Regions from separate parts of the Homo sapiens genome. Here all the other regions are linked to region 2. The links are contacts of gene promoters, found by promoter capture Hi-C in blood cells and fetal thymus (Javierre and others, 2016). All regions are on one chromosome and are shown on one strand. Each heading gives the region's core, a stretch centred on a gene start or on the middle of the fragment in contact. The rest is flanking DNA. Distances are from core to core; before and after follow the strand shown. Region 1 holds the start of IFIT1 (interferon induced protein with tetratricopeptide repeats 1). Region 2 holds the start of GLUD1 (glutamate dehydrogenase 1). Region 3 overlaps KIF20B (kinesin family member 20B). Region 4 holds the start of CCSER2 (coiled-coil serine rich protein 2).

Region 1 (7,068 bases), core at 75-2,574, 2.3 Mb before region 2:
GCCATTAGAGAAATGCAAATTAAAGAAGCAATAATTTATAACTTTATTCCACTCAGATTGGCAAGAGTTTAAATGGATGAGGACACAATTTCTGAAGCCATGTATTATTATGGCCTTCAAGATCAATCTGATGACAGCCATGAAAATTGATAGTAATTAAAATTAAAATTTTAATTTTAAAATCAAAATTAAAATTAATGGTGGTCATTAAAATTACATTTCCTTCAACAAAGTAATTCCACTCCTCAGAATCTATCTCCCAGAAAAAAATAACCAGTACATAAGGATGTATACTCAAGAATATTCATTACCAACACTGTATATATTAGCAACAAACTGGAAATATTAATAGGGAACGGTTAAATAAAGGTATATCTATACCATAGAATATTATGTAGCCACTAGACTACATGAATTAGATCAAAACTACTTGAGTTTGATGGACTTTCATATATATCAAGAAAAGTGAATTGTAAAGAAGTGTCCAAAACACGACCCTATTTTATAAAGAACCAAATCCTTATATATTTGTATGTATGTGATTACTCATGTATGGAGAAATATATGTAAGTATATTTACAGCTCATCAACAAAAAGATAAGCAACCCAATTTAAAAATGGGCAAAGGACTTGAGTAGACAATTCTCCAAAGAAGAATCACAAAGGACTAGCAAACACATGAAAAGATGCTCAACATCATTAGCTACTAGAAAAATGCTAACCAAAACCATGAGCTATCACTTCTCACCCAGTAAGTTGGCTACAATAATAATTTTAGAAAAGGAGAATAGGTGAACAAGTATTGACAAGTGCTATGGTTTGGATACAGTTTGATTGTCCCCACCAAATCTACGGAAATTTGATCTCTAGTGTCACAATTTTGGAGGTAGGGTCTAGTGGGATGTGTTTGGATCATAGAGGTAGGTCTCTCGTGAATGACCTGGTGCCATTCTAGTAGTAGTGAGTGAATTCTCATTCTTGTGAGACTGGATTGGTTCTTGGGGGAATGGATTAATCCTTTGAGAATGGGTTGTTATAATGTGAGGATGCCCCCTGGGTTTAGACCCTCTTTGTATGTGCTTCCCCTTTGACCTTCTCCAGTGTGTTTTGACACAGCACCAAAGCCCTCACCAGAAGCTGAGAAGATGCCAGCACCATACTTCTTGTATGGGCTGCGGAACTGTGAGCTAAATAAACCTTTTTTCTTTAGAAATTGCCCAGCCTTAGAAATTGTTGCTTATTCTTCTATAGCAACACAAAAAGGACTAAGGCAATAAGGATGTGGAGAAATTGAAACCCTCATACATTGCTGGTGGGAATGTAAAATGATGCAGCTGCTGTGGAAAACAATGTGGTGGTTCCTCAATAAGTTAAACATAATATTACCATATGACACATTCCTGGGTATACATTCCTGGATGTTCCACATCTGGATATATACTTAAGATACTTAAAAACAGGTGTTCAAATAAAAACTTGCACACAGATGTTGATAGCAGCACTATTCATAATGGCCAAAAAATGGAAACAACCCAAATGTTCACCAACTGATAGATAAAAAAATGTAATATATCCATAAAGTGGAATATTATGTAGCCATAAAAAGGAATGAAGTACTGATACATGACACAACATGGATAAACCTTGACAACACTACACTAAATGAAAAAAACTGATCCAAAAGGTCACTGTTGTATTTTTTTTTTTCCTAATTTTGTCTTGAGGTCTCTCCTGTGAGAGTGGCTACAATCTACAGCCCTGCCTTGAAAGAGCTTCAGGGTATTTGGTCATGGATATTTACAATGTGCCTTTCTTGGGATACTTCTTTATTTTGATGAACAGCCTAATGCCTAAGCGTCTGATCTATGTCTAGGTGTCCCCTTTTATAGGAAACTTGTTTATATCAGGCAGATGCCCTTGTGGTTCTTGCCTGACCTGTGTTTAGTTTATTTCTACTGAGACAGCCACTCTCTCGGAAAGCCATGACCAGTAAAGAAGAGTTTGAGTGTGTTGGTCAGGTGAAATACAAAGGAGGCAATTGAAAAAAATAGTATGTGAAATAACAGAAGCAGCTTATTACTTACAGATCCAGAGAGAAGAGGGTAATATGCCTTGCAGGGCCAATGGGAAAGGGGGAGCCATTGAGGACATGCCTGCTCAACCAGCGAGTGGGGAATGTGGGCCCAAGCCTTTATGGGAGGCCAGGGCGTTACCTAGGTGGGTTTCCTGTGGAGAGTTCTATTTGGTGGGTTTAGAGCAAGCAGGTGCAATTTTGCCAAGGGGTCATGCTGTGACTGAGAGGTGGTCACTGCAGCACATCTGCCTGGTCCATGTGGGGTGGGGGTGGGGTCAGTGGGGGCAAGTCAAATAGGTCATACCCTGCTATGCTATAGGGAAGTGGTCACCAGGAGGTAGTTATATAAAGCAGATATCTGGATCAATCACATTGAGGAACTGGAAAAAGGTGGAGAACTAGAAATTGTCTCAAGGGTGACTGAGCCCTGCTTCTGGAATGAGAAAGTCCAACTTAATATTCAAAAAGGGATGCTTAGGAAATATAAAATTATAAAAATTCAATATAACCACATAGTATGTGTTTCCATTTATATGAAATACCCACAATAGGCAAATCCATAGAGACAGAAAGCAGATTAACAGTTGCTGGGGCCTGGGGAAAGAGGCAAGTAGGGAGTGACTGCTTAATGGCTATGCAGTTTCTCCACATAGCGAGAAAAATGTTCTTGAACTAGATAGTGATGATGATTGCACAGTAGTATCATGAATATACTAAATACTACTAAATTGTATACTTTAAAGTAATTAAAATGATAAATTTTATTTTACATGTATTTTATCACAATAAAAAATCACATTGCTAACCTGAATAAAATTCAAGTTTTATATATATATATATATATATATATATATATATATATATATATATATATATTTTCCTGTAGTACATATTGACATAAACATAAAAGCAGGAAAACATAAAAGCAAATGAGTTTGCCATCTGAAATAATCACATGAGCCCCCACTGACACCCTTTGGGAAACATTGATTTAAAGGTTTAATGAAATATCATTGAATGTAGAGATCCTGATCCATATCTCAAAGCTACCACTTATTGTCTGTGTGATCTTAACATTTCTAAATCTAAGATTCCTTATTGTAAAATCAGGATCATACAGCCATGCACTGCATAATGATATTTTAGTCCACAAAGGACCACATATTTGGTGGTGGTCCTATAAGATTTTAATGCCACAATTTTGCTGTACTCTATGTTTAAATATGTTTAGATAAACAAATACTTGCCATTGTATTGCAGTTGCCTACAGTATTCAGTACAGTAACATGCTGCACAGGTTTATAGCCTAGGTGTGTAGTAGGCTATACCGTCTAGGTTTGATGTTTGCATAATGATGAAATTGCCTAACAGCTGCATTTCTCAGAGTGTATCCCCATTGTTACACGATGCATGACTGTGTAAGTACCTGCCTTATAAGTATCTTTTGAGAATTAAATGGAATAATTTACATAACACTTTTAGAAGCCAGGCTGTCACTTAATACGAATTCAAGAAGTGATAACTACCTTTATAACATTTAATATTATTATTATTTTAATTATCAGTACCAACTCCATCTGTTTACAGAGGAGGGTTCATCATAGGCCTGTAATGTGCATTTTCTGGAATTTTTACCTCTTCAAAATTTTGCCAACTGGAGCACTGAGGGGAAAATTTACAAATCAGTATTAAGTAATGGATTTTTTGTTTGTTTGTTTGTTTTTGAGACGGAGTCTCGCTCTGTTGCCCAGGCTGGAGTGCAGTGGTACAATCTCAGCTCACTGCAACTTACGCCTCCCAGGTTCAAGTGATTCTCCTGCCTCAGCCTCCCAAGTAGCTGGGACTACAGGCATGTGCCACCATGCCCAAATTTTTGTATTTTTAGTAGAGATGGGGTTTCACCATGTTGGCCAGGATGGGCTCCAACTCCTGACCTCAGGCGATCTGCTCACCTTGGCCTCCCAAAGTGCTGGGATTACAAGCATGAGCCCCCTTGCCCGGCCTAAGTAATGGTTTTTAAATCAGCTGAGAAATTCCCACATTAGGCCCTTTAGGTAAGGAAGATACGGATCTTCCCAAGCAGATGTGGATCATCTTCAGTCAAGGACGTACCAAGAGCCTAGATTTTCCAGGGAGGAGGCAATCTGTTTATCTTAAGCTCAGCCTGATTGCGAAAACCTGTTGTAAGAGGCCAGCAGTGCAGAAAGTGAGACCAGAAGCCTATGGAGGAAGGCTGTGAGCTTTTCCTACCACATCTCCACTGTATTACCCACAAGACATCAGAGAGGCTGCAAGACTGAGGCTTTCACATTCTTGTGGGTCCTGCTTTTTCTCTGTGGTAAAGAACCTGCAGAAAGCAATGCCTCTACTCAGACAAGCTGTCCATTCCTTCCCCATATCAGACAGAAGTGAATCTGATGGGAAAGAATCTCTCAGATTGGGATCATTTTCTCCCTTCCTGCAAAACTCTTTTCCCATTTCCCTCCCCTTCTTTGGGCTATAGCATGAGGTAAGCTTCCTCAAGTTCATGCTAACAAACATAAAAATGCATTAAACAATTTATGTATGTGTGAACGTGCACACACATGCATGCACACATTCAGTCCATAAGCAGATACTCAAATCGAGGAATTAGAAAACCTGACCTCACTGAGATCTAACCTGTTGAAATAGTATTTAATTACCATTTTTTCAAAAACTTTAGACATTATGGCAGAGGAGCAAAGAAATCCTTACCTCATGGTTGCTGTAAATTAGGCAGCCGTTCTGCAGGGTTTTGCTTAGCCAGGCTCCTCTGAGATCTGGCTATTCTGTCTTGTGGATTTTCAGTTACGTTTAAACCCCAAGACAGTGTTATATAAGGGAGCTAAACAGCAGCCAATGGTGTAAGCTGTGGGTGTGTCCTTGCAAGTTGGAAACCTAGGGAAACCGAAAGGGGAAAGTGAAACTAAAGCTAGCGGAATTCCTGCTGACGGGGGGGGGTGGGGAATGAAACTTTGTTTCTATTTTAAAACAGATAAACTGCAGACCTGCAACCATAGATGTTTCTAGTGCTGCAGAAACCCAATGACTGGCCAGCATTTGGAACGAGATTCACGTCCTCCCTAAAGAACATCAGTCCATTGCTGCCTATTGTGGCAGTTGGTGGCTGGATTCTGGATGAATACACAGAAAAAGGAGAATTGAAGGAGATAGCTCTATTTTCAGTTTCTATATTTAGAAGGAACCTACTATCAAATATAAAAATCTACTCTTAATTAATTGAGTAACAAGGCTTTTGGTTGCTGGTTGCTTTTTGGTTGCTTACTTTTGGTTTCAGCTTGACGGAAATAAGCAACCAATCTGGTTTAGGAATGAAGGAAAGAGACCAATACCTAGAAAGCCTTCTAACCCCTGATGACTTAGGCAGGAGGTAAAAGCAAGGAGGTATGGTTTGAAATAGAGAGCCCTCTATTGCTCCATCATGGACACTGTCATTCTGAATCAAATTCCAGTACAACCTCCACTACAGTTCATGGAATTTGAGTTTAAATAGTTAGCAACTACCTGGCACATAGAAGCATGCAAATAAGTGGTAACTATTATTATTATTATTTTCAGTCATCAAGTTAAAAATAATGATTCTTGGCTGGGTGCGGTGGCTCATGCCTGTAGTCCCAGCACTTTGGGAGGCCAAGGTGGGCGGATGACAAGGTCAGGAGATGGAGACCATCGTGGCCAACATGGTGAAACCCCCTCTCTACTAAAATACAAAAAATTAGCTGGGTGTGGTGGTGTGCACCTGTAGTCCCACCTACTCGAGAGGCTGAGGCAGGGGAATTGCTTGAACCTGGGAGGCAGAGGTTGCAGTGAGCCGAGATCACACCACTGTACTCCAGTCTGGTGACAGAGCGAGACTCCGTCTAAAAAAATAAATAAATAAAAAATAAAAAATTGTTGTCCGGGTGCATTGGCTCAGGCCTGTAAGTCCCAGTATTTTGGAAGGCAAGGCGGGAGGATCACTTGAGCCCAGGAATTGTAGACCAGCCTGGACAACATAGGGAGACCCCAACTCTACAAAAAAACTGAAAAAAAAAGCTGGGTGTGGTGGTGTGTGTCTGTGGTCTCAGCTACTCAGGAGGCTGAGGTGGGAGGCTCACTTGAGCCCAGGAGGTAGAGGCTGCAGTGAGCCATGGTCACACCACTGCACTCCAGCCTGGGCAACAGAGTGAGCCCCTGTCTCAAATAATCATAACAATATATAAAAACAATGTTTCCTTTAAAAAAACCTACCTACTTTGTCTTTTAACATAAGAAGCAGAAGAGGAGCAGGTGCAAGAGTATTTTCCTTTTGGAAACACTTAACTGGGCACACTGCCAGATCTAAACAGTTTCTGCTCAACTCCCTGCCAGACTCATCTCCCATGTCAGCTCTCACCAATTCTGTAAGCTTCCACAGAGAGTTCAACAACTAGTTAGAAAGTTCTACACAAATAAGAATTTCTGAATTAATAGGACAGGTTTTGTCTTGCACTCAGATACATGATCAGGCCATAAGCAAATGCTGAAACAGATGAATTAGAAAACATCTTTTGGGGAGCAAGATGTCTTTGGAATTCTTATGGGAAAAAATGGGTTTTCAATTTGCCAATGCACTAGATAGCATGCAGAGATATGAACAAAAAGTTTATCTTGCCATTGCTGTGAATTTGGCAGCAGTCTTGGTTCTACGGGGCTATGGCCCAGGCTGATTAGGTATTCAGAATCTTGCTTAGTGTCTCTTTGGGCTAAACAAACCCATGAGGGACACAGGATAGAACAGCATTAAGGAAAGAAAAGCCAATCGCGCGCGTGTGTGTGTGTGTTTACAGATAAAAAAGAAAATGGGAACCAGAGAGGATCAAACATTTAGAAAATGAAATTTCAGCACTAGGTTGTGAGTTCATTCCCAGGAGTCTAAGCTGGGCTCTGCAAGGGACTGACCAGTTATGATAAACTGCTTCACCTCTATGAAT
Region 2 (7,173 bases), core at 907-3,406:
ATTTGATACCTTAATCTTTTGACCATCAAGGAAAATTCAGGATTCAGGTCAGAGTACATTTTTCACTGAAAAACACAGTGCAAATACAATTAATGACAATGACTTATTTAGCAAGTAAGGTAAAATATAAGTTCCACCTGTATGAAAAGATAATTTTGACTTTGAGAGTACACTTAGATGAATGTCATTTAACAGATCCAGGTTGTCACCTTATATTTTACACAATATTTCGAGAACTAAGAACTTTCTCTTCCATATTCTAAAAGATGAATAACATGAACATATCGGGAAGCACCATCGTTTTGCAGGTCCAATGGGTGTCATTTTAAAACCACCCAAGTACACTGAGACCGCTAACGCTAGTAATGTGGTGTTTGGCAGCTAGTTTTAATGACTGTCATTAGAGCTTTATTTTTTATTTTCTTTTTATAGAGACGAGCCCAGGCTGGTCTTGAACTCCTGGCCTCAAGCGATCAGCCTGCTTTGGCCCCCAAAGTGCTGGGATTACAGGCGTGAGCCACCGTGCCAGCCTCGTTAGTTTGAAAAGCACCAAAAGCTATCCATAGGAATGTGAACTTTAGCATTTCCTATCAAGTATGTATAAATACATAACTGAACCCTCATACAGCATAAAGCTTATAAATCATATACTGAGGCCAGGCGCGGTGGCTCACGTCTGTAATCCCAGCATTCTGGGAGGCCTAGGCGGGCGGATCACTTGAGGTCAGGCGTTGGAGACCAGCCTGGCCAGCACAGCGAAACCCCGTCTCTACTAAAAATGCAAAAATTAGCCGGGCGTGGTGGCGCGGGCCTGTAATCCCAGCTACCCCGAGGCTGAGGCAGGAGAATCGCTAGAACGAACCCAGGGAGGTGGAAGCTGCAGTGAGCCGAGATGGTGCCACTACACTCCCGCCTGGGCGACAGAGCAAGATTCCATCTCAAATAAATAAATAAAATAAAAAATAAATCATATACTGAACCATTTAACAAATACATATATTCCTGAGAAAGAATTTCCTGGGGGCATTATCGCATTTCTAGTTTCCTTATTTTAGACTATTTCAGAGGGAGATAGGGTCTCCCTCTGTTGCCCAGGCTGGGGTGCAGTGGAGCTATCGTAGCTCACTGCAGCCTCGAACTCCTGGGCTCAAGCCATCCTCCAGCCTCGACCTCCCAAAGTGCTAGGACTAAAGGCGTGAGCCACCGCGCCGGGCCGGAGCCTCTGTCTGCAAAGGTGAAGCAGTCAGTACTGTGGGGCGACACAACCACGACGTGCGTAACTATGCGATCTCCACACTGCGGAGCAGTTGAACGGGACAATAAAAGCTCGCGTGGTGAGAGCTTGTGGGCGAGTGACTCCCTTCCAGCTCACGCCAGCCACGCATAATCCAACTCCGGGTGCCACGCCGCTCTCTGCAGCCCTGGCTGGTGACGCCGAGCCCTCAGCCCGGCCTTACGCGGCGGCGGCTCTGCCTCGCTTTCCTGCCCACGTGTCAGCCCCTGCACGCCCGGCCCCGGCCTGAGGCCGCCAGAGGACAGGCCAGGGTGGGCCGCCCGTTCCGAGGGCGCGCGGGCGGAAAGGAGGGGCGCCCGTGACTCACATGACCCGGTCCCCGACCAGACCGCCAAGCCTCACCCACGCGGCGCTCGGGGGGACTCGGCCTCTGAGCGCCCTACAGAGGCCAGCCCCCGACCCCGACCTCCCTGGGCTACCCCCAACCCCCCTGAGGGACCCCCGCGGCGCACATACCTGAGAGCCCCGCCGGAGGCGGGTGCGGCCTCCGGGCAAATCCGGCCGCCCGTGGGCCCGCCCCGACCCGCCCCGACCCGCCCCGACCTTCCCCTCCCTGCCCCTCCCGTCCGTTCCCCTCCACTCTCCTCCCCGCCCTTCCTCTCCCCTCCCCTCCCTTCCCCACTGGCGCGCGAGCGTGCGCGCCGAGCCCGCCCGCGCCTGCGCGCCCCCGACGCCCCGCCGGCGCGCGCTGCCGCCAGCGAGGCCCGGGGAGGCCGCGGCGGAGGCGGAGGCCCGGCGCCCTGGGCGGCGCCCTGTCCCCGAAGTCCGTCCTCCCCGTTAGGTGGCGAGCGCCCGAGGGGAGGGGACAGCCGGGCAAGCAGGAAGCTGCGGCTTAAAAGGGCAACCCGCGCGGGACCCTTCCTCCCTAGTCGCGGGGAGTCTGAGAAAGCGCGCCTGTTTCGCGACCATCACGCACCTCCCCTCCGCTTGTGGCCATGTACCGCTACCTGGGCGAAGCGCTGTTGCTGTCCCGGGCCGGGCCCGCTGCCCTGGGCTCGGCGTCCGCCGACTCGGCCGCGTTGCTGGGCTGGGCCCGGGGACAGCCCGCCGCCGCCCCGCAGCCGGGGCTGGCATTGGCCGCCCGGCGCCACTACAGCGAGGCGGTGGCCGACCGCGAGGACGACCCCAACTTCTTCAAGATGGTGGAGGGCTTCTTCGATCGCGGCGCCAGCATCGTGGAGGACAAGCTGGTGGAGGACCTGAGGACCCGGGAGAGCGAGGAGCAGAAGCGGAACCGGGTGCGCGGCATCCTGCGGATCATCAAGCCCTGCAACCATGTGCTGAGTCTCTCCTTCCCCATCCGGCGCGACGACGGCTCCTGGGAGGTCATCGAAGGCTACCGGGCCCAGCACAGCCAGCACCGCACGCCCTGCAAGGGAGGTGAGCGTCGGCCGGGCCCCGTCCCGCCCTCCCTGCCTCCCCTGCGGCCCTCCCCTCCGGCCTCCTGCCGGTGCGGGGCCGCTGCTCAGCCCAGCCCAGCCCAGCTGGAGCGGGCCGGGTCCCCGCCCGGGTCACCCCGCCTCGGATGTGGCCGGCTCTGTGGATGGTGATTTTTCCGCCTTAAAATCATCATGCGATTGGCCTGCCCCCTCCCCCGCGCCGTCACCCCGGGCCTCTGTATATGCTGATCTTGCATGCAGAGTAGACGCTGCACCGGTCTCCTTTTGGTCCCGGTGTCTGTGTCACACACGGCGGGTCCTGCCGAAATGCACTTCTAGGAAAGGGAATGACCTGCCCGTGTGATAATGCCTCGTCAGTGTTCTTGGGCTTTTGTGAGTCTCCCCTAAATGCAAGCTGTCAAATTATTTTCTGGTATTTGTTCACTCCTGTTCCAATAGTGACAGATGATATCCGAACATAGAAAATGACTTGGCTTCTAAGTTTGAAATCTAGACAGTTTTATTAACCAAAGGAATTTACTAATCACGCGTTAATCGTTTCAATTAAGTAATTTTCCCATTCTGACAAGTTCTGTTTTATACCAAAAAAAAGGAAAAACACAAAAAAATCACAAGCAATGTAATATCTCTGACAAATAAACACCTGGCGTCCTGACAGTAAATTTACAGGTTGTAGGCTGCGGATGGCCAGCCAGCCAATGGAATGAAATAGCTCTGGGGGTGTGTACTGGTCCTGGCTAGCCCTGAATTTGAGCTTCAGGAAAAATATAGTACGTGAAGAAAGGGGTCAGATAATGTTTGGTAGTCACTGGGTTATCCTGTGGTTTAAATCATTTAATGTCTGTAGATTTGGCCTCTGTAGTCAGATTGCTTTCTTCGAGCAAATAAGAGCTTTTTTCCCCCCAATACATTGCATCATACCTCTTTAGTAACATAAAATGGAAAGGACAAACCACTTTTGTCTACTGTAAAAAAGAAAAATTATATGGAATAAAGAGCCCAGGGAGGCGAGGAGTCTTGTTGGAGGTGGATTGGCTGAGAAGCACAGAGGATGTTGGGCTAGACCCATGTCTCAGTAAACCTGGTTCTGTGGTCTTTCAGTTATGCCCGCTGACTTATGAGGATTTTTAGAAATCCTCTCTGTACCGGAAAAAACTTGAGCGGTGCTGGTGTTCCCAGCAGGGGGGACAAAGGTTGTTTTTAAAGATTTACTAAATTTGCATTGACCCCGCCCACTTCTAGGACTTAACTTTGGAGCTTAATTATCCCCTAGCTCTGGTTGCCTCAGCCAAAACCAATGTTTGAACCACTTTGACCTCTGATTTCCTTTCTAGCTTCAAAATTGTATAAAATGTACACACCGTCAGTCTCCTACATTTGCCTGCCTTCTTCCTACCACTCCCTTATTATCCAAACCAGGAAAACAAGTTCAGACTCCAAAGAAAGGCAAATAAGGATGTTGGAGGAAGTTCAGGCAATGTTTAGCAAATATTGAGTTGCATCGTTTTCTTAAAACGGACATCAAGTTTATTTTTTACTATCTTGCTGGCAGCATTTGCCAGTCCTTTAAAAGGTGTACAGATAAATCAGTGTATGTGGTTTTCTGCAGGATGATTTGGTCTCTGAAATCCTTTTTCTTCGATTCTTCAGATGCCCAGCTCTCTCCTGTTTTTATAAGTCGCAGCTCCGCAAACTCACTGAAGCAACTCGTTTACCATAGTTTGTGAGTCCTCTTTCTCTTGTTGCCACAGCAGTTTTAATGCCAAAATATTGAACCTAGCAACAAATTGGGTCAGCCATACCAAAGCACTGTTACTGTAGCACTTGCTTGTACTAGAGTGTAAGATACAATTTTCTGTTCCGTTTATCCCATTTACAAAAAAACATGCTATTAACCCCCAGCATATAAACAGGGAGAAACTGAATTGTTACTAGTAAACTGTTGCAAGCATTGATAGAACATCAAAGAAAATTGGCCTCTACAAAGTGACAAATTTATTATCTTCAGGAATTTGAAAGGCTTTCTGGATTGGGGAAGATTACATAGCTATGAAAGCCCTTAAATATTTTAGTTTGCTTAATAAACAGTATACTAAACAGATGATCAGCAAAATTTGGGTACTATAGCCTTCCATGCTTTGTGTTCAAGACATCCCCAGATCTATCTACCCATTTATCACCCTTGTTTGCAGAGAATGTGCATTGTAAGAGAGACAGGTCTTCTTTCTTAAAGCTTTTTTAACGTCTAAGAAATTGTTAACCTTTGTAGTCCCACTCTAGTCTTAGAAACACAGAATATATTAGGTGATTGAGATTTTTTTAAATGCTTTGGATAATCCCTATGAAATTCTGTCTTTCCCTCTTAAACATATTTTAACACGTTCTTCTTACCTCTCCCCACTAACCTGTCTTCTCTCCCATTGGTTCTTTGCCAAAAAAAAAAACCTCATCTGCCTCTCTCCACCCTTTTACCAACCTTCAGCTTTCTGTATCTCATTTTCCCTCAAGAACAACCTTATCCCTGAGTTTTCTAAATTAAAATTCTTGAGGTTGAAGCAAAGCAACAATCTAGCAATAATCTCTAAGGGAAACAGATGGTTATAAGACTTGGTGGCTGATGTGTACTTTTTCCAAGTAAATATTTAATAATACACACTGTTTTTGTGCTTTTCTTTTCCCAGTTACTACATGTACCTGAGGCCGTTAGATTTGTCTGTGTTAAGGATTTGAAAGGGTAAGCTAAAGGATCTGAAGGGAAGTTTAAGTGAGGCCTTAAAAATATTTCCAGCAAAGGGGCATAGTGTGAGAATATGCGACTGATTTGAGAAGACTGGTTCAAAAGTTCTGGTGGGTTTGGAAATATTATCAAAGATTGTTCTATTAACTTTCCCAGAGTAAATTATCTGTATTTCATTTGCTATGGTTCTGCCTGAGACCAGTCTACCTTTTTAGAAGGAAGTTTATTGTTTTAAAGTCAGTTTGGAGGGAAAGTACAGATTGATAATAGCAATTTATTGATGGTAGGAGTCAATTAACTTTCTCTTCCAGTCTGCCCCCCCCCAGTTGTCTTGATATTAAAACTATTAAAATTCCCTATCACTGATGCTACTATCATAAAATTTTCTAAAATTATCATAATTTACATATAGTTGATGGACCGTAGATGGAGTTCTCTCATACATTGACCCTAAGTCTTTTAATTACAAATATTAGTACCCAAAAAAGTGTACCCTATATTAATCCAGTAACTAGTTTTTAAAAGTCAAAATGCCAGAAGGAAACAGTGGAATCTTGATGACATAATGCAAGGGAAGACCGGAGTCAATGCAGTGTTAAAGACGCCCTCAGCCTCTGGGATGTCATTGTTTAGCGCTTAAGGGAAGACTATAGAAAGCACTGATACTGATTTAAAATGAGATATTTCTCTGCCTTCACTGGGGGAAAAAATGTTTCTGACTTATTTTGCTGTGCTCAATTGACAACCATCAAAACTTAGGTAACTTTTAATAAACTCACAGTTTCTAATATTTTTAAGTGGCTGTGTGTCTGCATCTGCTGCCACAGATAAAATATAACCTTTGTAGGTGAATTTAATTTAGGACTTTTCTGAAAGTTCAGTCAGAGGATAGGTAATTTGTGTGTCTTTTAAAAGCACTTAGCCCCGAGGTTGTTGTTTTTAATACATCTTATTTAAATACGGAAATGTGTTGCCCTTATGCCTTTTTATTTCATGGAAGCCAAATGCGTCTTTTCTCCCAAAGTATACTAGAAAATGAAGACGCTTGGTAATGGTAGTGATCTGTACATCAGATTTCAGTCTTTCTGTCACTTGCGTGTATGAATCCATTTAGCAAGTTTGCTTTTGGCAGTAAAGCCCCACGTGCAGGAAGACAAACAGCTGCTCACTCATTATCCAAAGTATACTTTGTAAGAATTAGGGCATCAAAAATTGGATCCTAAGCACCAATATATATTAAAGTTCAGTACAACTTGTAGTGTTTAAGTACAAGAAATAAAAATTGAGCCTGAACTTTTGGCATATAGTGGGAAGAAATTAGGTTTACCGCTGTTAATAATTCAGAGTGCTTAGGAAAATCGGTTTTTATTTACTTATGTTAAAAATACTAAGGGTTCTGTAACCATTAAAAACTAAAATACTAACCTGTAGATGTTGAAAAAATCCTAGACACTAGTCTCTGCCACGTGACTGTTCTTCTTTTCTATTTATTTTACCCAATAATTAGGCTTTTACAATGTAAGTAATAAAGAGAAAAATCTCTAGTATCACTTTAGAGCACATTGATTCATAAATAGCCCATAAATTTTGTACTCAGCAACCCATAAAATACACATGCATGATTCACATAATCAAATAGTAACGAAAGTTACAAAATGAAAAGTGAAGCAGCTCTACCCCAAGTCCTTCCCCCAATATAACCATGAACAGTCTTAAATCTAATGCCGCTGTCTAAAACTGAC
Region 3 (6,988 bases), core at 3,436-5,935, 2.6 Mb before region 2:
GTTATCCACCAATCCCCATAAATTTTGTTAAAACACTATTCTACTTTCAGAGACCATAGTCACAGACTCAACTTTGAACTCCACTGGTAACACACTTTTTACTGCCTTAAAACCCTGGTTTCTAAATGTTTTAAAAAAGAAAAATTTGCATTAATAATAATAGGGTAAAAATATTTACAAAAACAATTAGTAGTTTTTAACAGCCTTGAATAGAATAATGTCTGAAAATATACTACAAAATCCAGAAGGCACAAGAGGAATAAACAGACAAGTATAACTTCATTTTTAAAAGTTTATATGGTACCACCTTATATAAAACAATACCTCCTCACAGTATATTACATATTTATTTATTGTCAGTCTCCATGAGGGCAGTACCATTTGTCCTCAAAACTGAAAATATTGCCTGGAAAAAAAACAGATGACTTAATAAAATTTGCTGAATAGATGAATACTGAAAAACACAATGGGCCAGGCTTGGCAGCTCAAACATGTAATCTCAACACTTTGGAAGGCCAAGGGAAGAGGATCTCTTGAGGCCAAGAGTTCAAGTCCAGCCTAGGCAACATACCAAGACCCCATTTCTACAAAAAAAATCAAAACAGCCAGGAGTGGTGGCATGCCCCTGTAGTTCCAGCTATTCAGAGGAGGTCGAGGCAGGAGAATCACTTGTGCCCAGGAGTTCAAGACAGCAGTGAGCTATGATCATACCGCTATACTCCAGCCTGGATGACAAAGCAAGATCCTGTCTCTAAAAACTAAAAAAAGGAAGAAAAAAAAGAAAAACACAATGGGGGCAGGGGAGAAGCAAACAATAAGCCAGAAAATTTGCAACCCATACACTAATACATTAATAATGTATTCATTTTTTTAAATACATTTTAATAAATCAGTAAACAAGAAAAGTCATACAATACTAGATAAATGGACAAAGAACATGTGACAATTCACAGGAAAAAATTCTAAGATGTACTAATCAACTAATTTACAATTAAAAAAATATAAAGTAGGCTCAAGTGAGCCATTTTTCACCTATCAAACCAGACATTATTAAATATCCAATCTTGGCCTGAGTTTGGGAAAATTAGCACCAAATATATTTGCAATGGAATGTTTCTTTACTGAAACACTGTTCAAAATAGTAAAACACAGAAACAATACAAATGTCCATCAATGGAGACTTAGTTTTAAAAGCTGATTTAAAATTTAAAAAAACAAGTTAAAGACATAACAGATAAAACGCACATGATTTAAGGTAGGAAGAGATTTAAGATACGCTAAATGAAATACCAAGTCATAGAATGGTAAGCATAGTAAGATCTCTTTTTTGTTTAAAAAAAAAAATTATATCATACATATAAAAACAAAGGTATGAAGATATACACATCATATATATGACCATGTTTGTGTATATACAGATAGAAAGCTCTGTATATGGATTTTATATAGAGAGAGAAAAGGTCCAAAAACAATACTTCCCAATCTATTAATAATTTTTTCTTTAGGAATGAAATTAAAGGAAACTTTTACTTTTTACTTCTCACATTCCCTATTTTAAATTTTGGGTACATATTACTTTCACAATTAAAAAACAGAATTTTAAAAAATCATTACATAAAAAGCACAATGCTGGCTCTACAACAATCAAAAAAGATTTCAGAACCATTTACATTTGTATTGTTTAAACATTCTTGCTGTTGGTATAATATAAATACAAAAGATGTCTTCACACTTTAAGCTTTATTTTTCTCGAAAACATAAATAATAACAAAAAACACTACCACCACAAACCAGATTCCAATATATGGTGAAACAATCTAAAGGGTTTATAAGAAGTCAGGAATTATACATATTTTACATACTAAAATATTTCCATACCTCTTTAATTTGCCGAAGCAATGCACTTTTGCTAGCAATTTCTTCTTTCTCTTGTTCTGATGATAACCTTAAGTATTCTCTGGATCTATGTGGTTTAAGGTTCATCTTTGTATACAGTCTTTCTTGAAGACTATCAAATAATACATTCAAAGTTCGAGGCAGAATGCCAATATTTTCTTCTGTCCCTGCAAAAGGAATTTTTGTGTTATACTCTCTCAGTCTACTAGGAAAGAGGAAACTTTACTTGTTTATTAAAGCTCCTTTTATACTACCAATAGGCAAGAGTCAACAACTGAAACGGAAATGATAGCTAAGGATTACTCAGTTTTCCATCACTTTGTTATTCACAGTATTACCAACATTTTATTGACTATTATTCTGATGTAAACATGAAACTTTACATTCAGATAATGCAACCATATTAAGATTTGTAACCACCCATAATCACAAACTATAAAAGTAAAATGAAATATAAAATTTCTTCTGGTCATTTATGCTTAATTCTCTGTATCACATCAATACTTTTTCTGGATTTTAATCATCATCTAAATCTCTATCAATGGGTAAAGTATTTTTACAAATGAATTAAATAAATTTGAATTAAAAGCCAATAGCAAGGCCAGGCATGGTGGCTCTTGCCTGTAATCCAAGCACTTTGGAAGGCCAAGGTGGGCATATCACCTGAGGTCAGGAGTTCGAGACTAGCCTGGCCAAAATGGTGAACCCCCATTTCTACAAAAATATAAAAACTAGCTTGGCATGGTGGCGCACGCCTGTAGTCCCAGCTACTTGGGAAGCTGAGCAGCTCAGGCAGGAGAGTCATCTGAACCCAGGAGGCAGAGGTTGTAGTGAGCTGAGATCACACCACTGCACTCCAGCCTGGGCAACAGAGTGAGACTCTGTCCCTCCCCCGCCAAAAAAAAAAAAAAACAGCAATACGTAATAATATGCTAGTACTATTAAAAATAGAGCAAACGCATACTAGGTAATAGCAACATAACTACATGTATGTATTATAAAAACACTGAGTGATTATTATTGCTTCCTTATCCTTTCCAACCAAAATAAAACAATATTTACCTTGAAATGTATATGTTTTTCCTGAATTGGTTAGCCCGTAAGTAAAAATCAGACGACTCTGTCCTTTCAAGAGGTCTTTTACTGGTTGCATAATGCAACCCTGAAAGAATTCCTTCTGTGTAGTTGCTGGGCCAAAAACCTAAGCAAACATTTTTTAAAAACTCTTTTTAGAAAATTCAAGTTAATATTAATAGTGTGTTCCATCCCAACACTACTGTTTAAAAATTTAAAAGATTCATTCTTAAAATAGGTGCCACATCCCCACTCCCACAAATACATTTGATAGTTTTACTACCAGAAAGTTTTCAAGATAGAAATCTGTACCAGGGAATCAAGTATTCACCTAAGTTTTGAAAAGAATATTTCTTAAAAATATATTAATAATAACTTTAATAAAAATATAGTAATAATAACTTTAATAACACTACAGTGATCTCTTTACATCCAATTATATATTTCCAGACCTGAGATTTGAGTCTTATCCTTAAAATCTAAGTTGCATAAGCATAAAATGTATAGTTCATTATATACAATTATATAGCAATTTAGCCTAAGCCAAGTCTCTTTATCTTTAAAACAAAAAACAAAAACACTTCAGTTTTACCTTGGAAAAACTGAATTTCTGTGCCATCTGCCCTGAGCTTTTTTCACTTAACCGACCAAGGATGCATTGAGGCTCTTTCAGCACAACAGTCTGTGAATCCAGAATATGCACACAGCCCTAGAAAACATACCCCCAATAAATAAAAACTAGTATTTTGCCATTTTAAATGAAAGTAAAATATTAAAATTCTATTAAATTCAACACAAACCTCAGACTCAAGTTCTTTTTCTGACTGTGTAAATGGTCTTATTCGAAGACAAACCTGGAGATAATCTTTAGATTCGAAACTGTTTGCCTTAAAAAATAAAGGAGAAAAACATTGTGTTTTTGAAAGATACGGCTTTTCAGAGACCATTTTTCCTTAACATGGCTACTTTTTACATAATAATCTGAGATGATAAAGAATTTCTAAGCAGTCACTATCCTGCTTTTAATAATGTTAGAAAAACTCAATAAATCTATTTAAATAAAAACAAAATACACCAAAAAAGATCCAATTTCCTCCATCTCCTGTATTTATACGTGAAGTTTATAAAAAGGCTTTATTCCACAAAAGCCTAATATAATTAATGAGGCCCTAAGTCATTGGAAAATATAACTCTAGAATAAATCAAAAGTAACTAGAATATTCTATTATTCAAATGCTCAATTCCATGAGGTATTCAGAATTTTTTTACTATGTACCATTCTCCTTGTTACTTTTTCTGAGGAAGAAATGTGCATAGAAAATGTAATTTTAAAGAAATGTTTTAATGTTTTTTTAAAAAAGTAAAAAGGAAACAACTTGATAAATGCAACTTAATCAAAACAGACATAACTAGAAAATCTGAATAACCCAATTTCTATGAAGCAAACTGAATCCATTTTCAAACAAAATAATGCCACAAAAAAAAAAATTCAGGCCCTAGTAGTTTAACAGTAAATTCTATCAAACATTTAAGAAAATGATCAGGCCAGGAGCGGTGGCTCATGCCTGTAATCCCAACACTTTGGGAGGCCGAGGCGGGTGGATCACCTGAGGTCGGGAGTTCGAGACCAGCCTGACCAACATGGAGAAACCCCATCTCAACTAAAAATACAAAATTAGCCAGGCATGGTGGTGCATGCCTGTAATCCCAGCTACTTGGGAGGCTAAGGCAGGAGAATCGCTTGAACCTGGGAGGCAGAGATTGCGGTGAGCCAAGATGGCGCCATTGCACTCCAGCCTGGGCAACAAGAGCAGAACTCCGTCTCAAAAAAAAAAAAAATACAAATTGTACATAAACTCTTTAAGAAAATATAGGAAGAGAAAATACCTTAACTAATTTTGAGTTTGACATAAGCCGAATAACACAATTGACAAAGATATCCTCAGGAAAAAATTAGAAAACAAAATACCACATTAAGATATACGCAAAATTTCCCACACAAAATACTAGCCAATATATAAAACAGGATAATACATCTGACCAAGAATGGTTTATTCTAGGAATATAAAGTCTGTTTAGCATTCAAAAATCAATCCAGGCAATTAACCATATTAAAAGAATAAATGAAGAGAAACTTTTATCTCTACAGATGGGAAAACAGCATTTGACAAAATCCAACGTCCATCTGTAATAAAAATTCTCAGCAAAGTGTAATGAATGCAAACTTCCTCATCCTGATAAAGGGCACTTACAAAAAATCTATCGCTAACAACAAACTTAACAGGAAAGACTCAATCTAAGATGAGCAGCAAAATGAGTAATAAGAAGAGGATTTCTGCTTCCCCACTTCTAGTAACATTGTATTAAAGGTTCTAGCTGGTGTAATTGGGTGTGAAGGGGGAAAGGGGATGGGGGAAGAAAAAAGGAGGGGTAAGGGAAAGAAAAAGGGAAGAGAAAAGGAAAGGAAAAAGAAAGGTAAAAGGGAAGGGAAGAAGGGAAAGAAAGAAGTGGAGGGGAGAGGAGGGGAAAGAAAAGGAAAAAAAAAATGGAAAGAAAAAAAGGAAATGAAAAGACAAAAGTCATCCAAATTGGGAAGGAAGAAATAAAATTTTCTTTATTTAGAAACAACATGAACATACGCATACAAAATCCAACAAATCTACAAAAAATTAATGTATACTAACAAAATGCTAATCAGAGGTTACTTGGAGGTGTGATGGGAGGGAGCACTTACAAGGAGCCTCAAGGAAACTTTTGAGGGTAATGGTTATACTCACTATCTTGACTGTAGTGACAGTTACATAAGTGTATGCACATGTCAAAACTTATCAAACTGCGTATCTAAAATATATGCAGTGTTTCATTATGCCTAAATAAAGCAACTAAAAATATTTACAATAGCATCAAATAACATAAAATGTTTATAAATATATTTGACAAAAGACACGAAAGGCCTCTACATTGACAAGTATAAAATACTGCTAAGACATTAAAGACCTAAATAAAATGAAGAATACTGTGTTCATGGATTAAGACTCAATATTGTCAAGATGTCAATTCTCTCCAAACTGATCCACAGATTTAATGCAATCCCAGTCAAAATCCCAAGATGCTGTCTTGTAGAAACTGGCAAGCTGATTCTAAAATTTATGAATATGCAAAGGACCTAGAAAAGCCAAAATTTTCCTAGAAAAGCAAAACTGGAGAATTCACACTACCTAATTTCAAGAATCATTATAAAGCTACAGAAATAGAGAGTATTGTGTTGGAATAAGGACAAATAGGTCAAAGGAAGAGAATAAAATCCAGAAATAGATCCACATATACACAGCCGTTTGTAAAGCACCAAAACAACAGGGAAAGGAAAGTCTTTTCAATAGATAATGCTGAAATAACTACTTATGTAGTTAAAAAAAAAAAAATGTATGGAAGCTAAAAAGAAAAAGAAAAAAGTTAACCTGGGTCCCTATATCAACTGCACACAAAAACTGTTCAAAATGGACCACAGATATAACTACTCAAATGAAAACTAAAATTTCTAGAAAAAGTAAGACAAAAACTTTGGGGAAGGCGAAAGTTTCTTAAAGAGAACACACACACAAAAAAATTCACCAAAGAAGAAAAGAAAATGTTAAATTGAATGTCTTTAAATTTTAAAATGTCTGATCATCAAGACACTATTAATCTGATAAAGGATTTGTATACATAAAGATTTCTCACAAAACACTAATGAAACAACCTAATTTAAATGGGAAAAAGATCTGAAGAGACACTTTACAAAGAAAGTAGAAAAATGGCCAAGAATACTTGAAAGAGTGCTCATTAGAAAGGGCAAACTAAAACCACAACAGGATACCATTACACATCCACTAGAAATAAAAAGTTCCATTATCAAGTGTTAGCAAAGAGGTAGAAGCACTGGAACCTACATACATTGCCACTGCTGGGATAGCCACTTTGAAAAACAGTTTAGTAGTTACTTATAAAGTTAAACTTATACAGTTTGTATTCCTAGGTA
Region 4 (6,318 bases), core at 2,110-4,609, 2.8 Mb after region 2:
CAAAATAGTAAACAATCTAGATGTCCAATTATTAAGAAATGACATTGTAACACTGTATAATCATCTAAAGGTATAAAAACTATAGCAAAAATAAAACATCAAATATGAAAGCAAATATTAAGCATTATGTGTATGCTTTATCATATAAAACCACTGATATGACAAGAAATAAGAAGAAAAATTAAGTTTGTTTTGATTTTTAAAATTTCTTTGACCATTGTTTGTAAGATAAAAAGCCTTTTGGAATTGGTCAGGCCCACACCACTAAGTACACATTTCAACTTTTTAGAGACAGCCACAATCATCAATTTTTTCCCCCAAAATCCTATCACATAGGAGTAAGATAGGCTCCTCTCACAGACAAGCCACACAAGTAATTTTAGCCATGCTATTAGCCAGCTGCAACCTTCTTATATTAAAATCTCATTGTACCATCAAAACTTAACTGTATGTGAGATGTCCATATGGTGATCAGAAGCCACTTGTTATGGGGCATCTGGAGAGAGCGCCCCAAGCACTGAAGTTAAAACTATCTGGCTGAGAGGAATAGTGAAGGTTAGGTTTCTCCCATATCCCCAAATGAATTATCATGTTTCTCAGCCACAAGGGTTCTAAGTCCCTAGGAGTGGCAGCCATGTATTCAAAGAGGGAGAAAGTGCAAGCAGATTTGCACTCCCTCTGAAAAACTGGCAGCTCCTTCATTTCACCCCAAAGCACCATGGAGTAGTGAAAAACACACAATGATGAGGTCAGGAGATATGAGATGTAGGTGAGCCTAAGCAATCTCAAACAAGTTGTCTTTTTAGGCTGAGTTGTTTAACCGTAAAATTTTTAAAGTTGAACCAAATAATCTGTTAATTCTTTCAAGTTCAATATTCTATTGACCCTTTTTTCAGAACACATCCAAGTCGCTCACAACTCCCATTCAAATTGTAAAACAATTAAGATTTAGAATTAGGAGACTGGGGGCAAAAGTGAAATACACAGATGGTCAAAAGACCTGGACTGTAATCCCCGCCATCCCTTTCTACCTGCGTGACTTTGCGCCTCAAAATAAAGTTGTAGGACCAATGAAGCAGCAATCTTTATTGGTCATGCCCTTTTTATTCCTGTATCATAAAATGGATTTTTTTTAACATAACTGGGGTTTCATTCCTAACCAGCCTACAATCCCAGCACTTTGGGAGGCCGAGGTGGGCGGATCACGAGGTCAGGAGTTTGAGACCAGTCTGGCCAACATACTGAAACCCGTCTCTACTAAAAAAAAATTAGCCAGGTGTGGTGGTGTGTGCCTATAATTCCAGCTACTCAGGAGGCTGAGGCAAGAGAATCGCATGAACCCAGGAAGCAGAAGTTGCAGTGAGCCGAGATGAGGCCATTGCACTCCAGCCCAGGCCACAGTGCAAGACTCTGTCTCAAAAAACACAAAAGAAACCCCAAAACCTGGTGGAGACAGACACATAAACAAATCATTAACTACCAGTTGACAAATACTAACTGGAGAGTGTACGAATCAGTTAAGACAAGAGGGATGAAATGTCTAGACAAGCCTCAGAAGTGCTACTTTCGTAAGGTCTTCAAGGGCAAGTTGTTTACTAGGTAGAGAATTCTCAACAAAGAACACTGAAAAACCACAGAGGAAGATGTCATCTTCAGAGAACTGCAACAGTCTTATATAGAGAGGGCAGGCATAATGGTAGAAGATGACACTAGAATGGAGACAAATACCGCTAATCATGAAGGACTTTGAATTTTATCGATATAGACTATGGAGAGTCACTGAAGGACTTGTAAATATGGATTCAAAGTCCCTTCCTCCAAAATAGTCAAAGGAGTTGAGTCAAAGCAACAAAAAATGCAGGTCTGAATGTGGAAAGGTAGAATTTTTACAGAATTCTTAATAGAGACTTTCGGCTTGCTTTCAGGATGGCTTCTAGTGCTTTCTTAACTATGGCTTATGCTGAAGTACGACAGTATGAATTATGGCTAAAGGGTTCAACAAAGTGTGCATTTTTAACCTGAAGATTATTTGAAGCCAATGTTGTTTAGAACACAAACGAAAACAAAAAATAACAGTAACAAGCTTTCATAAATTAAGAGAAACAGTAATAAAGTCCAAGAGGAAGAAGACTGATTTCAGGCAAACACTCAGGAATATTTACATTTTTATCACATATGGATGACGGATAAGACATGTTTTGAACCCATCTTTTGCAGGAGAGCATCTTAAGTTCCTTTTGGTTAAAGAGCAGCTGCCATCTCTAAAGTCTCTAGTCTAAAAGATGATGCTTTAAAAAAAACAACTGGCCAAATGAATAGGTTCCGTCATATTTTAATGCTCAGGAGAAAAGGAATGCTTTTCATATGGCTATTTTAAAAAGCTTAAAGCTCAATTTCTCTCTTACAGGAGTGAGCTACCAACACTCTAATCTGAGACCAGAGTCCCTGCGTCAGTCATTTCCACTCCGCTAAGGCCTTGTCTGGGAGCAGCCAGCCTCATTGGTCGGGGAGCCCACACAGATGAATATGCAATTACTGAAATGGAAACAAGCTTCGCCACCAAGGACCACCACAAAGGAGTCCCTTCATTCCTCCTTTTACTTTATCAAGAAAGTAGGTGCATTATTTAAAAATGTATGAAAATACATGTCTAAAGACAAGAGAGAAGATCTGAACCTACGGCAACGGTGTGCCCCACCAAAGTTTCACCTCAGGATGTGTTTTAGGGTGTGTCTTTCATTTAGCCCAGTAATTGAAAGAAAAAAAAAATCGAACTCATTCGGGGAGCCCCGGTACTTTCCCTATCCACCCTCACACGCAACCAGGCTCCGAAATCAGAGTGCCTCAGCCTCGCCCTGATTTCTCCTGAAAGGCGGCGGCGCCCGCGGCCCGAGGCCCCGCGCTGTCACAGCCGCAGGGAGGGCGCCCTCCGGCCTCCCGGGTCCGCGCCCGCCCCGCGTCCGGCGGCTCGCGAGGGGCTAGAGAGGCTCACCCTGGAGGCCGGGTACGGGAGGGCGACACCGCCTCAGCCCGGGAGTTCGGGCCTCCGCCCCGCCCCGGACTGCGTGCCTGGTCTTGGGCTGCCCCCGGCGCCCGCCGCGACCCCGGCCCCGGCTCTGGCCCTGAGCCCGGATCTCACCGTGCGGAGGTCGCGCTGCCTCCTCGGCCGCGGCCCAGCTGCAGGCCGCCCTGCGACCTGCGGGCCCGAGGACGGAAGGTGAGACGAAGGGCCGCCCGTCACATCCCCGCCAGCCCCGCCGCCCGAGCCGCAGCAACCAGCATCGCGTCCGCGGCCTGAGGGAGCGCCGGACTCCAAAGCCGCCGCGCCCCCTCCCTCGGCCGGCGCCCGCCCGGACTCCGCCCTCCAGGGCCGGCGCACCGCGCACGCGCAGTCCCGCCCCGCCGCGGGCCCGTGCGCAGGCGCGAGCCTCACGGGGCTACGGGGACCGCCCCCACCGCCTGATCCGGCCTCAGCCCACCTCTGGCCCCGCCCCGCCCTCACGCCAGGCTTTCCCAAGCTCCGCCTCCGCTTCGGGCCCCGCCCCCTCCACTGACCTTGCCTGGCCGCCTCCTGACTCAGGTTTTTGCTGGGCCCACGCAGTGACGCCAGTCTTGCGGCTGACCTCACCTCTAGCCGTCCCCTGGACTACATTTGCTGCTTGAGTGCGGTCAAACCTGACAGCTCCTCCTCCTGGATGTGAAAAGTGAGGAGTGGTCTGAGCATTGGGCATGACTGAACCACGCACCTGCCTACCGCATCAAAACACAGGATCTTGCTAAAGCTGAGGGGAAGGGGCACCCCAAGTGCTGATCTGGTTTTCCCTTTTTTTTTTTTTTTTTGAAACAGAGTCTCGCCCTGTCACCCAGGTTGGAGTTCGGTGGCGCTATCACAGCTCACTTGCAGCCTCCTGGGCTTAAGCGATCCTCTCGCCTCAGGCGTGTATCACCAAGCCTCCGAAATAATTACAACTAAGACCACACTAGTCAAAGTAAACTATCACAAGTTGACCCAAATACCCGGCTAATTTTTATTTTTTCTTTTTAGAGTTGGGGGAAGTGGTCTTACAGGCTAGTCTCAAACTCCTGGGCTCAAGCAATCCTCCCACCTTGGCCTCCCAAAGTGTTGGGATTACAGGCGTGAGCCACAGCTCCTGGCCAATGTGGTTTCTTTGCCAGAAACCAGGTCTTTCTTCCCTTTGGGGCTTCCATCCCCCAGAGGCCATCTCTTCCCCTCTTGTTTTTCCTCGACGCGGCCAGTCCTGCTGCTGAGAGTCCTCAGCCTGGAAGGCTTCCGGGCCTGGCCGGCTGTTTAAAGCTCTGGAGTTGCCCTTACCTGGTTGTAGACTTGCAGTTCTCTGAAATCCTCGTCGGCCCCAACAGCTCGGTTGTAATAACATTTCAGGAGAACTGCTTGAAAAATATCCAGTTCTTTCCTGTCTCCAGATCAATGATACTCAAATGGAAAAAGCAGACGGAATGCCTGATTTGTATAACCACACTTCATTTAATAATACACTTTCATATTTAGAAAATAATGTCTTTTAAATATCAATCCCTAAGATATTTAATGTATTGGACAATAATGTGTGCTTAAAATATTGACAAAGACTAGGTCTAAATGCTGTGCAATCTCTCTTTGGATTAAGTGAGATTAGAAAAGCAAACACCAGGCCGGAGGCGATGGCTCAAGCCTGTAACCCCAGCACTTTGGGAGGCCAAGGTGGGAGGATCACAAGGTCAGGAGTTCAAGACCAGGCTGGCCAATATGGTGAAATCCCGTCTCTACTAAAAATACCAACAAATTAGCCGGGCGTGGTGGCGCATTCCTGTAATCCCAGCTACTTAGGAGGCTGACGCAGGAGAATTGCTTGAACCTGGGAGGTGGAGGTTGCGGTGAGATGAGATCATGCCACTGCACTCCAGCCTGGGCGGCAGAGTGAGACTCCATCTCAAAAATAAAATAAAATAAAATAAAATGCCCAGGCCAGTTGTGGTGGCTCACGACTGTAACCTCAACACTTTGAGAGGCTGAGGCGGGAGGATCACTTGAGCCTAGGAGTTCAAGATCAGCCTGGGCAACATAGAGACCTAGTCTATTAAAAAAAAAAGAAATTAACCAGGCTTAGTGGCATATGCCTGTAGTTCCAGCTATTCAGAAGGCTGAGGCAGTAAGATTACTTAAGCCCAGGAGGTTGAGACTACAGTGAGCTGTGATCATGTCACTGCACTCCAGCCTGAGTGACAGAGCAAGACCCTGTCTCCAAAAAAAAAAAAAAAAAAAAAGAAGGCTAGGAAAAAACTTTCCCATAATGCTAATACATGTACATACTTAGCAGAATCACAATAGCATTTTAGTGTATTTTCCTAATTTTATAAGCATCCTTGATACGTTTTATTTGCTTTCAGTTAATTTTCCTGGGTCTTTTCTTTTTTTTTTGAGATGGAATCTTGCTCTGTCACCCACACTGGAGTGCAGTGGTGAGATCTGGGCTCACTGCAGCCTCCACCTCCCAGGTTCTGCGATTCTCCTGCCTCAGCCTTCCAAATAGCTGGGATTACAGGCATGTGCCACCACGCCGAGCTAATTTTTGTATTTTTAATAGAGACAGGATTTCACCATGTTGGCCAGGCTGGCCTCAAACTCTTGACCTCAAGTGATCCGCCCGCTTCGGCCTCTGCTGGGATTACAGGTGTGAGCTACCGTGCCCGGCCTGCCCTTCCTCCATCTTCAAAACCTGCAAGAGTAGTTTGAGTCCTTCCCACATTGCATCACTCTGACCTCCTCTTCTGTCTCAGTCTTCCACTTTTAAGGACACATGATTATGTTGGGTCCAACTGGATGCTCTAGAATAAGAACCTTATTTTAAGGCCAGTTGATTAACAGCCTTAATTCCATCTGCAACCTAAATTCTCCTTTTTTGGCATCCTCTTGATGTAAGAGAGAGACATTCTTTCAGGGGAAGTTTTAGGATTCCATGACAAACAGCACAATGAAACAGTTGATCCAGAGCCCCAGTAGGAGATGATTCTGGAGACCATCCAAAAACAGACAAGTTGGGTGCAGTCCCACACACCTGTAATTCCAGCTACTTGTGAGGTTGAGGCTGGAGGATTGCCTGAGGCCAGGAGTTCAAGCCCCACCTGGGCAACATAGCAAGACCCTGTCTCTAAGAAAAAAAAAAATACAACAGACAAGAATCTCTGATGAAATCTCCTGGCTAGGCATGGTGGCTCAAGCAAGAGCTTTGGGTGGCCAAGGCAGGAGGATAACTTGAGGCCAGGAGTGTGACCAGCCTGGGCAACATGGTGAGAACCCCC

What was found. The method cuts DNA at HindIII sites, captures the fragments that hold promoters and counts their contacts. A CHiCAGO score of 5 or more calls a contact.
Region 1: a fragment that was not itself captured here is called in contact with the fragment with the promoter of GLUD1 in region 2 in 1 of 17 cell types (non-activated CD4 T cells); the score reaches 5.5 in non-activated CD4 T cells.
Region 3: a contact is called between a fragment that was not itself captured here and the fragment with the promoter of GLUD1 in region 2, in 1 of 17 cell types (fetal thymus). The highest score is 7.1, in fetal thymus.
Region 4: a contact is called between the fragment with the promoter of CCSER2 here and the fragment with the promoter of GLUD1 in region 2, in 4 of 17 cell types (activated CD4 T cells, naive CD8 T cells, total B cells and 1 more). The highest score is 13.2, in activated CD4 T cells.

What each region holds. Positions count from the first base shown.
Region 1 is chr10:89,390,460-89,397,527 of GRCh38, reverse strand. IFIT1 (interferon induced protein with tetratricopeptide repeats 1) reads right to left here and starts at 4,905. Exons shown (of 2, transcript NM_001548.5): 1 at 4,811-4,905. The coding sequence starts at 4,815. It also overlaps a transcript of LIPA not described here. RefSeq lists enhancers at 4,176-4,225, 5,027-5,076, 5,307-5,356 and a silencer at 5,909-6,070. The HindIII fragment of the contact is 6,532 bases long and covers 1-4,590 here.
Region 2 is chr10:87,089,826-87,096,998 of GRCh38, reverse strand. GLUD1 (glutamate dehydrogenase 1) reads left to right here and starts at 2,156. Exons shown (of 13, transcript NM_005271.5): 1 at 2,156-2,674. The coding sequence starts at 2,230. It overlaps SHLD2 (shieldin complex subunit 2), which reads right to left and starts at 1,793. Exons shown (of 10, transcript NM_001330112.2): 1 at 1,751-1,793; 2 at 10-65. RefSeq lists enhancers at 1,143-1,202, 3,607-4,144 and silencers at 1,245-1,502, 1,423-2,122, 2,243-2,382, 2,583-2,922. The HindIII fragment of the contact is 4,292 bases long and covers 638-4,929 here.
Region 3 is chr10:89,706,036-89,713,023 of GRCh38, reverse strand. KIF20B (kinesin family member 20B) reads right to left here. Exons shown (of 33, transcript NM_001284259.2): 3 at 3,771-3,857; 4 at 3,563-3,679; 5 at 2,959-3,097; 6 at 1,879-2,063. Among named protein-coding and RNA genes, the nearest start is that of KIF20B, 7.9 kb to the right of the region's middle. The HindIII fragment of the contact is 5,889 bases long and covers 1,741-6,988 here.
Region 4 is chr10:84,325,630-84,331,947 of GRCh38, reverse strand. CCSER2 (coiled-coil serine rich protein 2) reads right to left here and starts at 3,359. Exons shown (of 10, transcript NM_001284240.2): 1 at 3,140-3,359. RefSeq lists enhancers at 1,339-1,418, 2,466-2,815 and a silencer at 2,866-3,595. The HindIII fragment of the contact is 12,289 bases long and covers 2,554-6,318 here.